Linked DNA regions of Homo sapiens: all the other regions are linked to region 1. The links are contacts of gene promoters, found by promoter capture Hi-C in blood cells and fetal thymus (Javierre and others, 2016). All regions are on one chromosome and are shown on one strand. Each heading gives the region's core, a stretch centred on a gene start or on the middle of the fragment in contact. The rest is flanking DNA. Distances are from core to core; before and after follow the strand shown. Region 1 overlaps NEMP1 (nuclear envelope integral membrane protein 1). Region 2 holds the start of CTDSP2-AS1 (CTDSP2 antisense RNA 1). Region 3 holds the start of CYP27B1 (cytochrome P450 family 27 subfamily B member 1).

Region 1 (4,357 bases), core at 815-3,314:
CCACTGCGCCCAGCCTATTAGTTCATTTTCATACTGTTGATAAAGATACCCAAGACTGGATAATTTATAAAGAAAAAGAAGTTTAATGGACTCACAGTTCCTGGTGGCTGGGGAGGCCTCATAATCATGGCAGAATGCAAAAGGCACATCTTACATGGCAGCAGGCAAGAGAGAATGAGAACCAAGTGAAAGTGGAAACCCCTTATAAAACCATCAGATCTCATGAGACTTATTCACTACCATGAGAACAGTATGAGGGCAACTGCCCCCATGATTCAATTATCTCCCACCAGTTCCCTCCTACAACACGTGGGAATGATGGGAGCTACAATTCAAGATGAGATTTGGGTGGGGACACAGCCAAACCATATTAGACAGTGAACTTCATCGATAAATGTCATGGGTGTTCTAACAACTCAACCAATTGGTTATTCCCGTCTCCCTTCTTCTTGGGCCTCCCTATTCCCTGAGAAACAGCAATATTGAAACTAGGCCAATTAATAACCCTAGAGTAGATTGTGAGTCTTCAACTGAAAGGAAGAGTCATACATCTCTCTGATTATGCTTAGTGAGAACAGCAAAAGCCAAGACAGACCGAAAGCTAGACCTCTTGTCCTGAGCAGTTAGCCAAGTTGTGAGTGCAAAGGGAAAGTTCTTGAAGGAAATTAAAAGTGCTACTCCAGGGAACACACAAGTGATAAGAAAGTGAAACAGCCTTATTGCTGATATGGAGAGAGTTTTAGTTGGCTGTTGAGAAGATTAAACCAGATACAACTCTTTTTTTGTTTGTTTGTTTGTTTTTTTGAGACAGAGTCTTGCTCTCTTGCCCAGGCTGGAGTGCAGTGGCGTGATCTCGGCTCACTGCAAGCTCCGCCTCCCAGGTTCATGCCATTCTCCTGCCTCAGCCTCCCTAGTAGCTGGGACTATAGGCGCCTGCCACCACACCCAGCTAATTTTTTTGTATTTTTAGTAGAGACAGGGTTTCACCGTGTTAACCAGGATGGTCTCGATCTCCGGACCTCGTGATCCTCCCATCTCAGCCTCCCAAAGTGCTGGGATTACAGGCTTGAGCCACCATGCCCGGCCAGATACAACTTTTTTAAAGCTAAAGGCTGATCCAGAGCAAGACCCTAACTGTCTTCAATTCTGTGAAGGGTGAGAGGTGAGGAAGCCTCAGAAGAAAAGTTTACAGCTAGTGAAGGTTCTTGGTTCATGAGATTTAAGGAAAGAAGCTGTCTTATTACATAAGTGCAAGGTAGGCTAGGCGTGGTGGCTCAGGCCTGTAGTCCCAGCACTTTGGGAGGCTGAGGCGGGCAGATCACTTGAGCCCAGGGAGTTCGAGACCAGCCTGAGCAACATGGTGAAACCCTGCCTTTACAAAAAATACAAAAAAGTCATGGTACCAGCTACTCGGGAGGCTGAGGTGGGAGAATCACCTGGGCCCAGTAGATCAAGGCTGCAGTGAGCCATGATGACGCCATCGCACCCCAGCTTGGGCAACAGAGTGAGACTTTGTCTCAAAAAAAAAAAAAAAAAAGATGAACCAAGCACTGATATAGAAGCTGTAGCAAGTTATTCAGAAGATCTAGCTAACATCATTGTTGAAAGTGGCTACAATTAAAGAGCTCCTCAGTGTAGACAAAATAGCCTTATACTAGAAGAAGATGCCATTGAGGACTTTGATAGCGAGAGAGAAGTCAGTGCCTAGCTTCAAAGGAGGGGTGATCCTCTTGTTAAGGGTTAATGCTGTTGGAGGATTGACTCCAGTTTTGAAAGAAGTTGTGGTAAAATGCTATCAGACAGTATTGCATGCTTTAGAGAAATCTTCATTGAAAGGATGAGTCAATGCAGCAAACTTCATTATATTTTAAGAAATTGCCACAGCCACTCCAGCCTTCAGAAACCACTGCCTTCATCAGTCAACAGCCATCAACATGGAAGTGAGACCCTCCACCAGCAAAAAAAATGATGACTCACTGAAGGCGTAGATGATCTTTAGCAGGTTTTAGCAAAGTATTTTTAATTAAGGAATATATATTTTTAAGACATAATGCTGTTGTACACTTAATATACTATAATATAGTGTAAACAATTTTTATATGCAGTGGGAAACCAAAAAATTTGTGTGACTTACTTACTGCAATTGCAATATTTGGTTTATTGCAGTGGTCTGGAACCAAATTTGAAATGTCTCTGATGCTTGTACTGCTCTAATCTTGTACCTTTTAAAATCTTTCGGCTGGGTTAGTTGTCCTAGTTTCAACAGTGCTATGTATGAAATATATACATATGGTCATGAAATACATTTTTTTCCTGCAGAAGTCAAATTTTCTACTACTCTACTGGGATGACTGTGGGAATTGTGGCCTCTCTGCTAATCATCATTTTTATACTATCTAAGTTTATGCCTAAGGTAAGTATCAGAATCTTCATGTGCAGCTAGAATGAATTTGGATAGCTGAAGGACTGTTTTCCTGGGTAATCTTAGAAAACTGAAAATGTGTATTGATGGCTGATGAGTCAATATCCTACTCTCCTTGATTCAGAAAGGTACTTTCCACGATGAAACTTGGAGCCTGATTACAAATTCTTTCTTTTTATATAAAATCCTGTGCTCAGAGGGGGATTAAAGTCTGCTTCCTGTTTTTTAATTATATAGCCAGGCTTTTAAGTTATTTAGCATTTCATCTTCCCAGTGTTCGTTGCAGACTGTACCATTTTAAGTATAAAGGACATCTTTTTAAGAGAAGTGTTTTTTGTGCATTTTGAGTAGGTTGAATTTTTTAAAAAAAAAATCATAGTTCCATTTTGCTTCTTTTATGTATGGAAAGCCTGTTGTAACTTTTTGCTTTCACTTCTACTCTCTGTCTTAGAAAAGTCCCATTTACGTCATCCTGGTGGGAGGCTGGTCTTTTTCTCTGTACCTCATTCAACTAGTTTTTAAAAATTTACAAGAGATCTGGAGGTGTTACTGGCAGTATCTTTTAAGTAAGTGTTGTCGGTTTTGCTTTCCTTTTGTACGTTTATAGGCTGTTTCAGTTAATTTGATCATGAAAAGATTTTGCCTGCTTATGGGATTTAATAGTTCATGTCATTTTTTTAAACTTTTAAAAATCATAGTTTTTCACTTATTTCTAATCCCTCTACAATTATCACCTTCTCTTAAATTAGAATGGTGCTGTTAAGGCGAAGATGTTCATTTATTGGTATTTATAAATATACCTTTCTTTACACAATAAACATCTTTCTGAAAAGCTGTAAGTTGACTTTATTAATGGAATCATATTTTAAATATACTTGGGGACCTTAAGTAAAAGACTCCGCAGTTAATTTTTTTCTCCTTCATTTCTGAATGAACTGCTGTAGATTTTATTTACAAAGTAAAAATCCTTGGTCATATAGATAGTAACCTTTGAGTTATCCTTTGAAGGGTGATTAATCTGGATTTCTGTATATTGGTTTTTTAAAATAGTCTATTTCAGGGTTGTTCAACATGTACCTTTAATGTTCTGTTTGAACCAAATAAATTTGGGACAGCAGAAAGGATAGAAACTTAGAGAAATATATTCTAAGAAAAAAGTGTGAAAAATTAAGTAAAAATCTGATTTCCTAGTTCAATTGGTGCTATATAGTAAATTAACTACTGCTTCCCACACAAATTATTTTTACCAAGTATAGATGAAAAAGAATGTCTTCTGATAACTCTTCTCATAGGTTATGTCCTCACAGTTGGATTCATGAGTTTTGCAGTATGTTACAAGTATGGGCCCTTGGAGAATGAACGAAGTATCAACCTGCTGACCTGGACCTTGCAGCTGATGGGCCTGTGTTTCATGTATTCTGGCATCCAGATACCACATATTGCCCTTGCCATTATCATCATTGCTCTTTGTACTAAGAACCTGGAACACCCTATTCAGTGGCTGTACATCACCTGCAGGTGACTGAAAGGCAATGTAACTTAATATTGACAGGTACATTGTGGGATGCAGTTGCAGCAAGAGGATACAGAGGTGTTGACCTGGGAGCTTCTTTGTTAATGAAAAGTCATTGTATTGTACTTCCACTTTTGTTCCTTCCCGAGTCTATTTTTTTTTTTTTACTTTCTATAGGAATTTTTATATTTTTATTCTAGTCATTTTATATAAAATGTCTAGTAAAATGTCATGTGTTCCTGTTACCACAAGGTGGTGCAAATTCTATCACTGTTTTTTTGAGATGGAGTCTCGCTCTGTCGCCCAGGCTGGAGTGCAGTGGCGTGATCTCGGCTCACTGCAACCTCCACCTCCCGGGTTCAAACGATTCTTCTGCCTCAGCCTCCTGAGTAGCTGGGATTACAGGCATGCGCCACCACATT
Region 2 (4,357 bases), core at 915-3,414, 770 kb before region 1:
GCTGGGTTTCCTGACTTCTAGATCAGTACTTTCTCAAGTGGACTCACCTATACGGCTTGGCTGGTCATAGGTGAAGCTGAGGGGTGTGGGGGGAGCAGCAGAATGTCCCTGGAGATGGGTGCCTCCCTGGCAGACTCCTTCCATTCCTTCTGCAGAGGCCAGCCATATGAAGGAGGAACTGGTTGGCCAGCCTCAATGAGTGTGTATGTGTGTGTGCGACTGATTCGTTTTTGTGGAGTCCCGGAAAACATCATTTCCGGTTTGGCCCTGTTACTACCTCTGAAATGAGTTAGAAGAAATCTCTATGGTCCCTTTAATGTGAACATTTTGAGATGGAGACTGAGGTAAGAGTATGAAAGTACTTTGCACTTAATGAGTAGCAGTTGACACTTACAAAGCTTTTGTTAGGACCAGGACACTCCCTGAGCTCCCTGCAATTCTGACACTGAGAAATAGGTAGTCTTCCCATTTTGCAGATGAAGAAACTGAGGCCCATGGCTGCATACCTTACACATGGCAGAGCCTAGATTCGAACTCAAGTCTGGGTGCCTTGTGTCACCACTGTATTTTTCCCTGGTCAGAACAGATACCCTTGCTTTGTCCTGTGTCCTCACTGCTTTCTCCAGCTCACGTTTGTATCAACCTAAAGCAGGCCTACATACCTGGAAGGGAAAGAAGCAGTGGATTCTTCCTAGGCTTCAACTATATCTAAGCATTCCAGGAGTCAAGGGCACAGCACTAAGGCAGGAACTTGAAACACTCACTGAGAGGTTGTCTGTGTGTAGCCCCTCCCACAGGGGCTTGTTATACACCTCCTTAGGGGGAAGGAGGGGTAACTCCAGGTAGGCAAGTGTGGTTTCCAATCCCTCACAATGATACCTTTGCTCTGGCTGGTGCTACATAGGGCAGGGTCTCCTGCTGAGGCAGGGGCAGGATCCAGTCCTTTGAGTTTTCTTGGATGGCATCTCAGGCTTGTCCCTGCTGCCCTGTGGGCTATTAGATCACTTCCTGACATCCCTCAAGAGTCCTCTGGAGTGGGGCTTGCAGGGCTGAGCCTGCAGCTGACTTGTCTATGAGGAAACGCCTCCTCTGTCTCTGGTCCAGGATCTGCTACTTATGGAGGCCCACCCCAACCCAGCACGTTTTTAAAGTACGTTGGAGCTGCCCAGGAGGGTGTTTTGGCAATACCTCCTTTAGAGGCTGATTCTGAAATCAGCGTGCTTTAGAACTGCCAGAAATCCCCTGCTCCCAAAACTGAGTCCTCTTACCTCTCTAGCTGAGGTCAGAGAACAGATTGCTGAAGGGGCAGAGACAAGAAAGTGTGTGACCTGTGACCCTCGCCCCACAGGTGGCATTAAGGACTCAGGTCTGAAAGAAGAGACAGCCATATAGGGAGCTCTCCTGCCCAGGGAAAGGGAACTAATGGAGACACTGGCTTAGGTAGAGCTGCCCCAGTTGCTGGTGCAGAGAGGGCACCAGCATACAACATGCTGGTATGGGCCAAACAGCATGGCTAAAACTGCTTTTTAATTTTTTAAATTTTATTTATTTATTTATTTATTTTGAGACAGAGTTTTGCTCTGTCCCCCAGGCTGGAGTGCAATGGTGTGATCTCGGCTCACTGCAACCTCCACCTCTTGGATTCAAGTGATTCTCGTGCCTCAGCCTCCGGAGTAGCTGGGATTACAGGAGCTCACTACCATACCCTGCTAATTTTTGCATTTTTAGTAAAGATGGGGTTTCACCATATTGGTCATGCTGGTCTCGAACTTCTGACCTTAAGTGATCCCCACTGCCTTTGCCCCCCAAAGTGTTAAAACTGCTTTTTTCAAAAAATGCCCATGCAGTTAGATACACAGCTACTTTTTGGAACTTCGGGAGCCGGTGCTAAGCTGGGTCCGGCCCTGCCTTGCTTGTTAGCTGTAGAGAACAGTGTCAGTGGCCAGGCATGAAAGCAGTACACCCTCCCCATTGTTTGCAGTCTTTTGTGTGTGGGGGCTGTCTAGGCATCTCACCCTCTTTTGTTCCCTGCCGACTCACCTGCTGGTCCCAGGAGCTCTTCCGTCCACCTGGCACTTTAGGGCATGTCCATAGCCAAGGAACAGATGCCCCTTGCAGAGGACCTGGGAGGACTTCTCTCCATGGGGGAGTCCCAGTCAAATGTGTCTTGGCTGCAGGGTTCAGGCAGCCGTCCAAGAAGGGCCGGAAATGCTCCAAATACTCTCCTTCCTCCAATAGCTGAGAGGAAGGAGGCCCCTCAGAGGGGCCATTTTATAGTGATAGCCAGGCTAAGGCTAAGTCCTTTGCTGTGGGGGATGGGAGGTGGTGGGGAAGGAAGTACTTCTGGGGATGAACCAAAAAAGAAAGCAACTTTCTACCTGAATGGGCTTGTTAAAATCTGATTGTCTCAGAGGTTACCTTCTGCTGAATCGCAGGCAGATGTGTGAGGAGTTCCTTTGCTGGGACACAAAGCTGTGTTGTTGACAAAAGTGGTATCTGGACCTGACTTTCAGGAGAAGATTAAAAACAGTGTTGCCCTGGTCACTCTGGTCTTCGTTTGTGTGTATGTGTGCACGTGTTCACGTGTTTGTACATGTACACTTTTTTTTTTTAAAGACAAAATCTCACTCTGTCACCCAGGCTGGAGTGCAGTGGTGCAATCACGGCTTACCGCAGCCTCAAACTCCTGGGCTCCGGTGATTCTCCCACTTCAGCCTGCCAAGCTGGGACTGCAGGTGCACCTGGCTAATTTTTTTTTGGTAGAACAGGATTTTGCCATGTTGCTCAGGCTGGTCTTGAACTCCTGAGCTGCAGTGATCCAACCGGCCCAGCTTCCCAAAGTGCTGGGATTACAGGCTTGAGCCACCTACCCCGGCCCATGCATAGGGGCAAATAGTGTCCTTACCTGGTACTTCTTGAGAGTAGTGGGGATGAATACCAGGGGAGACAGCGATTTTTGTCTCAAGTGAAACAGTCTTACTTGCTTTTGTTTTTCACAGAATACCCAGTCAGGGAGTTTGTGAGCTGGAAAACAAATTTTGTTGTGGACTTGGGAGAAGGTATAGGGGCTATTTTGACTTTCTGAAACCTGCTCATGATCAGAGCTCTCAGGCACCTTTCCCTCATCTTCTTGGGCTTCATCCACGTGATGATGGTGGGAGGGCTCCTGGTCTGTTGCTGGCCTCCTGGAATGAGGCCCATGATGTTGCCATTTAGTGGTCATCTCCCCTTGGATAATTAATTAAAACAAGCGCAGCATTTAGCTTTAGAGTTAGCACAGTGCCTTACTCTCTAACTTCGTTTATCCTTTCAGTCCTGAGTGAGGGCTTGCTGTTATCCCAGTTTATGGATGAGGAAACTAAGGCTCCAAAAGGCTGTGTGGCTGAGTCAGTAACTGGCAGAGCCTGGACCCCAGCCCTGATGATCCTCAGTGGGGGCATACTCCTCACATCCCCTCTTCTCCTCACACCCCGCCTCAGTAGGAAGACTCGCAGCAGTGAGCTGGATGGCTGGCCTGGTTTCCCTGTCTTCAGCCACCAGCTCACTTTCTTCTTAAGCCAGAGCTGCTTCCCTCATTGGGTCTGTGCTAGTCCTCTCAGACATCTAGCCCCAAACCAAATGTTTGGGGCAGAGAAAGCAGAAGCACATCTGCATCTGGGCAGAAGAGGAGGGCTGGGTGTCCGCAGAGGGTAGCAGGGAATGAAGGAGGGAGAGCAGCTCGTAGTTGGGCTACATGGCATCCGCTGGAGTCCTGCCCTCCCTGGTTGGGGAAACCATGTGCAATGAATTTCCTACGGGGGCCAGGCATGGTGGCTCATGCCTGTAATCCTAGCACTTTGAGAGGATGAGGCAGGAGGATTGCTTGAGCCCAGGAGTTCAAGGCCAGCCTGGGCAACATAGTGAGACCTCATCCCTTTTTTTTTTTTGAGACGGATTTTCGCTCTTGTTGCCCAGGCTGGAGTGCAATGGTGTGATCTTGGCTCACCGCAGCCTCCGCCTTCTGGGTTCAAGCAATTCTCCTGCCTCAGCTTCCCAAGTAGCAGGGATTATAGGCATGCACCACCACGCCTGGCTAATTTTGTATTTTTAGTAGAGACAGGGTTTCTTTCTTTTTCCTTTTTTTTTTTTTTTGAGATGGAATTTTGCTTTTGTTGCCCAGGCTGGAGTGCAATGGCATGATCTCTAGCTTACCATAACCTCTGCCTCCTGGGTTCAAGCGATTCTCCTGCCTCAGCCTCCCGAGTAGCTGGGATTATAGGCATGTGCCACCATACCTGGCTAATTTTGTATTTTTAGTAGAGACGGGGTTTCTCCATGTTGGTCAGGCTGGTTTCAAACTGCCAACCTCAGGTGATCC
Region 3 (4,357 bases), core at 1,506-4,005, 700 kb before region 1:
CATCGCCTGTCTCCGTAGCAATGCCATGAAGCACCTTCCTAACTTCTTCTACAAGGGCCAGGTGGGGAGGGGCCCTGGTGGGTTAGGCTGGTAGGCAGGTGGGGGCATGGAGGCCAGGCTCTCACAACCCTGTTGGTGTGTGTCTGTCTCACAGCTGACAAAGATGTTCTTCCTCTTCCCCGACCCACATTTCAAGCGGACAAAGCACAAGTGGCGAATCATCAGTCCCACCCTGCTAGCAGAATATGCCTACGTGCTAAGAGTTGGGGTGAGTTGGGATCGGAGGGATGATGGGGTGAGTGGCCTACTCAGGGGCCCTTCACTAAGAATTCAGTGGGGGTGCATTTAGGGACTCACACCACCACTTCCTTCATCTGGCTGCTGACGTTGCATGCAGCCTCCTGTCTAGGGTGATTTTGCCTATGCAGGGGCTGGTGTATACCATAACCGATGTGCTGGAGCTACACGACTGGATGTGCACTCATTTCGAAGAGCACCCACTGTTTGAGCGTGTGCCTCTGGAGGACCTGGTGAGTAGGGGACCTAGAGGAGGTGGAGGCCCTTTCCAGAGTGGTTCTGTATTTGGACTTAACTCAGTGCCAGGAGGATGGGATAGGTGTCTAAGGGCCAGGGGCAGTCTGAACAGTGGGCAAGGACTTATTGGACCCTTCCTTCTCCCAGAGTGAAGACCCCGTTGTGGGACATCTAGGCACCTCAACTGAGGAGGGGAAGAAAGTTCTACGTAATGGAGGGAAGAATTTCCCAGCCATCTTCCGAAGAATACAAGATCCCGTCCTCCAGGCAGTGACCTCCCAAACCAGCCTGCCTGGTCACTGACTGCTTACTCTACCTTAGCTGGACCTCGTCTCCCAGGGATTAGAGAAAAGAGCAGGAGTCCTGGGTCTTCCCAGTTGAGACTGCTGGAGCTGAGACACAGTACTCTCTTAAAGAAGGTGGGGAGCTGCCCAGGGCAGAACCCACTGGTGTTCATGACTACCCCTGGCTCCTCTCACCTTGTCCCTCCACTGCCAACAGAAAACAAAGCAGCTGACTGAGATGGTCAAAGGACTTTGGACCATAGGGGATCTTTGGAAGGCTGTGGGGTCTTGCTCTTCCTTAGCACTCCTTTCTCCTTGTGAGATCTCTCCTCAGCTGGAATGAGGAATGTAGTCCATCTAAACTGCTTGCTAGGCTCAATTACCACTTCTGTTTGCTTTGTGGATCCTGGGATAACATGTATATGTGTACACATGCCTATTCTGCCATTTCTCAGGAAAGGGTGGAGTATGTATCATATGCCTTCTACCATCCTCCTGTCCTCTCCCTGCGTAAGACTTGACCTGGGGAATCTGTGTTCCCTAAGTGTTGTCTCTGGAGAGTCCTTGGGAAGGTGTGGGGGTGGAGACCCTCTCCTTTTTCACATTGACCTTCAATTCCAGAACTTCAGAGCTAGCTGACTGGCACAGAGCCTGATAGAGTTGCAGTGGGGAATGAGGGAGTAAGGAGCAGAGAGGTAAACTGTGGGAGATTCTTTTATTTTAATTTTTTTTAGAGACAGGCCCTCTCTCTGTTGCCTAGGCTGGAGTGCAGTGGTACAATCATAACTCACTGCAGCCTTGACCTCCCGGGCTCATGTAATCCACCTCAGCCTCTCAAGGCACTACAGGCATACGCCACCATGCCTGGCTAATTTTTGTATTTTTTGTAGAGACAGTTCCACTATGTTGCCCAGGCTGGTCTCAGACTCCTGAGCTCAAGCAGTCTGCCCACCTTAGCCTCCCAAAGTGTTGGGATTACAGTCATGAGCTGCCGTGCCCAGCCTAATTTTTAAACTTCTTCTGTAGAGACAGTCTTGCTATGTTGCTCAAGCTTGTCTCAACCTCCTGGCCTCATGCCATCCTCCTGCCTCAGCCTCCCAAAGTGCTGGGATTATAGGCATGAGCCACCACAGGATTCTGAGGCTAAAAGTAGAAAGGAGCTGCTAACCAGAAAGCCCCCCAGAGGAGACCGAGTCAGCTGGGGAATTAGAACATCCACATCCATTTAGCTCCTCTAACACCCCACAGACAATCTCTGAACTTAACTAATGTACAAAAAGTTTCATTTCTGCTTCTCAAGCCCCAAATTCCCATGTCTGGAAGGAGGGGGCTTGTATACCCAAGAGACCCCCTTATCCTCAAGAAAGAAAGATGGAGGTTCTAGGAGCCATTTTAGCCCATTAACCCACCTGCCATCTGCCCAGTATATGTTAGGTACAGGAGGAGGGGGAGGTGTGGCTAGTGCAGGAAAATAATGCAGAGAAGATACAACCCACTAAGCCAAGAATGTGGGGACAGTTACAGCTGTGCCTCCCCTGCTTCCCTTCCTGGAGGAGCTGAAAGATGGGGAATTCCTGAGGATGGGCCTAAAGGGGCTGGGCTCACTGGTAGAAGTGGGAATATCAGAGACTGACTAGTGTAGCTTGGTCACCTAGTCCCTACTAAAAAGCCTTATAGCCTTTCCTAGGATGAGACTTTGAGGCTCCTAGACAAAGGCACTCTCCCAGGAGGAAAATCTTAGGCCCTCCCTCCCATGAGGGTCATTGCAACATGAGACCCAAGGGAGTTGTGAAGTCAGCCCCAGCCCCGCCTACTGTTCCTGGGTGCTAATCCCCAGCACAGACCACTCAGGAGGAGGGATTGGCTGAGGAGCTTGGAGAGGGGGCGTCATCACCTCACCCAAAGGTTAAATAGGGGTTGAGATATGATGCTCAGGAGAAGCGCTTTCTTTCGCGAGCACCCTGAACCAGACCATGACCCAGACCCTCAAGTACGCCTCCAGAGTGTTCCATCGCGTCCGCTGGGCGCCCGAGTTGGGCGCCTCCCTAGGCTACCGAGAGTACCACTCAGCACGCCGGAGCTTGGCAGACATCCCAGGCCCCTCTACGCCCAGCTTTCTGGCCGAACTTTTCTGCAAGGGGGGGCTGTCGAGGCTACACGAGCTGCAGGTAGGAAGGGACGCCTTTCCCGAGACAGAGTGCTGGGGAAACTGGTTTTGACAGCGTCAGAAAGGACTGACTAGTGCAGAGCAAATGTGGGACAGCCAGAGAGAACGGATGCCCATGAAATAAGGAAAAGGCGAGTTGAGGCTGGGGGCGGTGTGGCTACACTCGGGCAGAGCCCGTCCCGACTCTTAGCAGAGGGCGCTGCGAAAGCGCCTTCTCGCTGTCCTGAGGTGTGGAGATCCTGCAGATAAAGTACAAGTGCGCGGGAGGGGGAGGCCGGAGTGGGCAGTACCCTCCGCCTGCTTGCGGCTTAAAGCTACATGGGTTCCTTTTCATTCACTGAGGACTCGTCCTGAGATGGACAGTCCAGACATGGAACTTTTAGAGATTTCTCCTCGACCGAGATGATCAGAGAGGTCCTGAATGTCTGCCTTGCACAAAGTTCCGGTTTTGCCCATCACACTCAAACTTTCTAGGGATGGGAAATGAGAGAGGAGGAGTTTGCAGTATCAAAGGCATACACTAGTTGGGCACCCGAGAAAGAGCAGAAGCTCCCTATTCCCAAGCCCAGTCAACGCCCTTGGCGTGGGCACAGGTCAAGCTGAAAGTCCCCGCCCAGGTATCCAAGTGTCCGCTGTGTCCGCTCCCCCAGGTGCAGGGCGCCGCGCACTTCGGGCCGGTGTGGCTAGCCAGCTTTGGGACAGTGCGCACCGTGTACGTGGCTGCCCCTGCACTCGTCGAGGAGCTGCTGCGACAGGAGGGACCCCGGCCCGAGCGCTGCAGCTTCTCGCCCTGGACGGAGCACCGCCGCTGCCGCCAGCGGGCTTGCGGACTGCTCACTGCGTGAGTCTTCTCTGCCCCCAGAAGCCCAGACGCCCTGCAGCGGCCCTCTCCTGCTGCGGGTCCCGAAACTATCAATCTGGGGGCATGGTGGGAGGTCGGCTGTCCCACTCTACCATTGGGCATCTTGGGGTTCCCATCCCAGTCTGCTTCACCCACACTCAGGTTGAGCCCCAACCTCACTCCCCGCCTACCTCCTTATCCTTTGAGGCCCGAATCCTGGGAACTGGGGGAACCGGAGGAATTGGGCTAGGGTACAAGGATCTGGATGGAATGAATGTAAGGTTCTGTGACTCAAGTTACCCGGGAACCCCGGCCCCTGAGGGCAGGAAATGAGTAAAGAGGAAGGGGGCTGGAAGACAGGCGCAGGCCGGTGCAGGTTTCCGTACCCCAAGGGGGCAGACGCAATCCCTCTCCTGGCCACCGCAGCCGAACGCGCTCCTTCACTGCAGCCAGTCCCGTCGAGCCGTCCCCACCTTCCCGATGCGCACTCTCTCCTCAACCCTGCAGGGAAGGCGAAGAATGGCAAAGGCT

What was found. Contacts are between HindIII fragments. The CHiCAGO score rates a contact against its expected background, and 5 or more counts as called.
Region 2: the fragment with the promoter of CTDSP2-AS1 here is called in contact with a fragment that was not itself captured in region 1 in 1 of 17 cell types (neutrophils); the score reaches 5.0 in neutrophils.
Region 3: the fragment with the promoter of CYP27B1 here is called in contact with a fragment that was not itself captured in region 1 in 1 of 17 cell types (neutrophils); the score reaches 6.1 in neutrophils.

The regions. Positions count from the first base shown.
Region 1 is chr12:57,062,702-57,067,058 of GRCh38, reverse strand. NEMP1 (nuclear envelope integral membrane protein 1) reads left to right here. Exons shown (of 9, transcript NM_001130963.2): 5 at 2,320-2,413; 6 at 2,874-2,988; 7 at 3,715-3,940. Among named protein-coding and RNA genes, the nearest start is that of NEMP1, 14 kb to the left of the region's middle. The HindIII fragment of the contact is 9,125 bases long and covers 1-4,357 here.
Region 2 is chr12:57,834,898-57,839,254 of GRCh38, reverse strand. It overlaps CTDSP2-AS1 (CTDSP2 antisense RNA 1), which reads right to left and starts at 2,164. Exons shown (of 2, transcript NR_188077.1): 1 at 2,041-2,164. The region is part of intron 1 of CTDSP2 (CTD small phosphatase 2); the gene reads left to right. RefSeq lists enhancers at 825-904, 965-1,074, 655-1,275, 1,865-1,934. The HindIII fragment of the contact is 9,495 bases long and covers 401-4,357 here.
Region 3 is chr12:57,765,476-57,769,832 of GRCh38, reverse strand. CYP27B1 (cytochrome P450 family 27 subfamily B member 1) reads left to right here and starts at 2,755. Exons shown (of 9, transcript NM_000785.4): 1 at 2,755-2,986; 2 at 3,636-3,826; 3 at 4,334-4,357. The coding sequence starts at 2,792. It overlaps METTL1 (methyltransferase 1, tRNA methylguanosine), which reads left to right. Exons shown (of 6, transcript NM_005371.6): 3 at 1-61; 4 at 155-268; 5 at 429-530; 6 at 682-1,362. The coding sequence ends at 837. The HindIII fragment of the contact is 11,205 bases long and covers 1,872-4,357 here.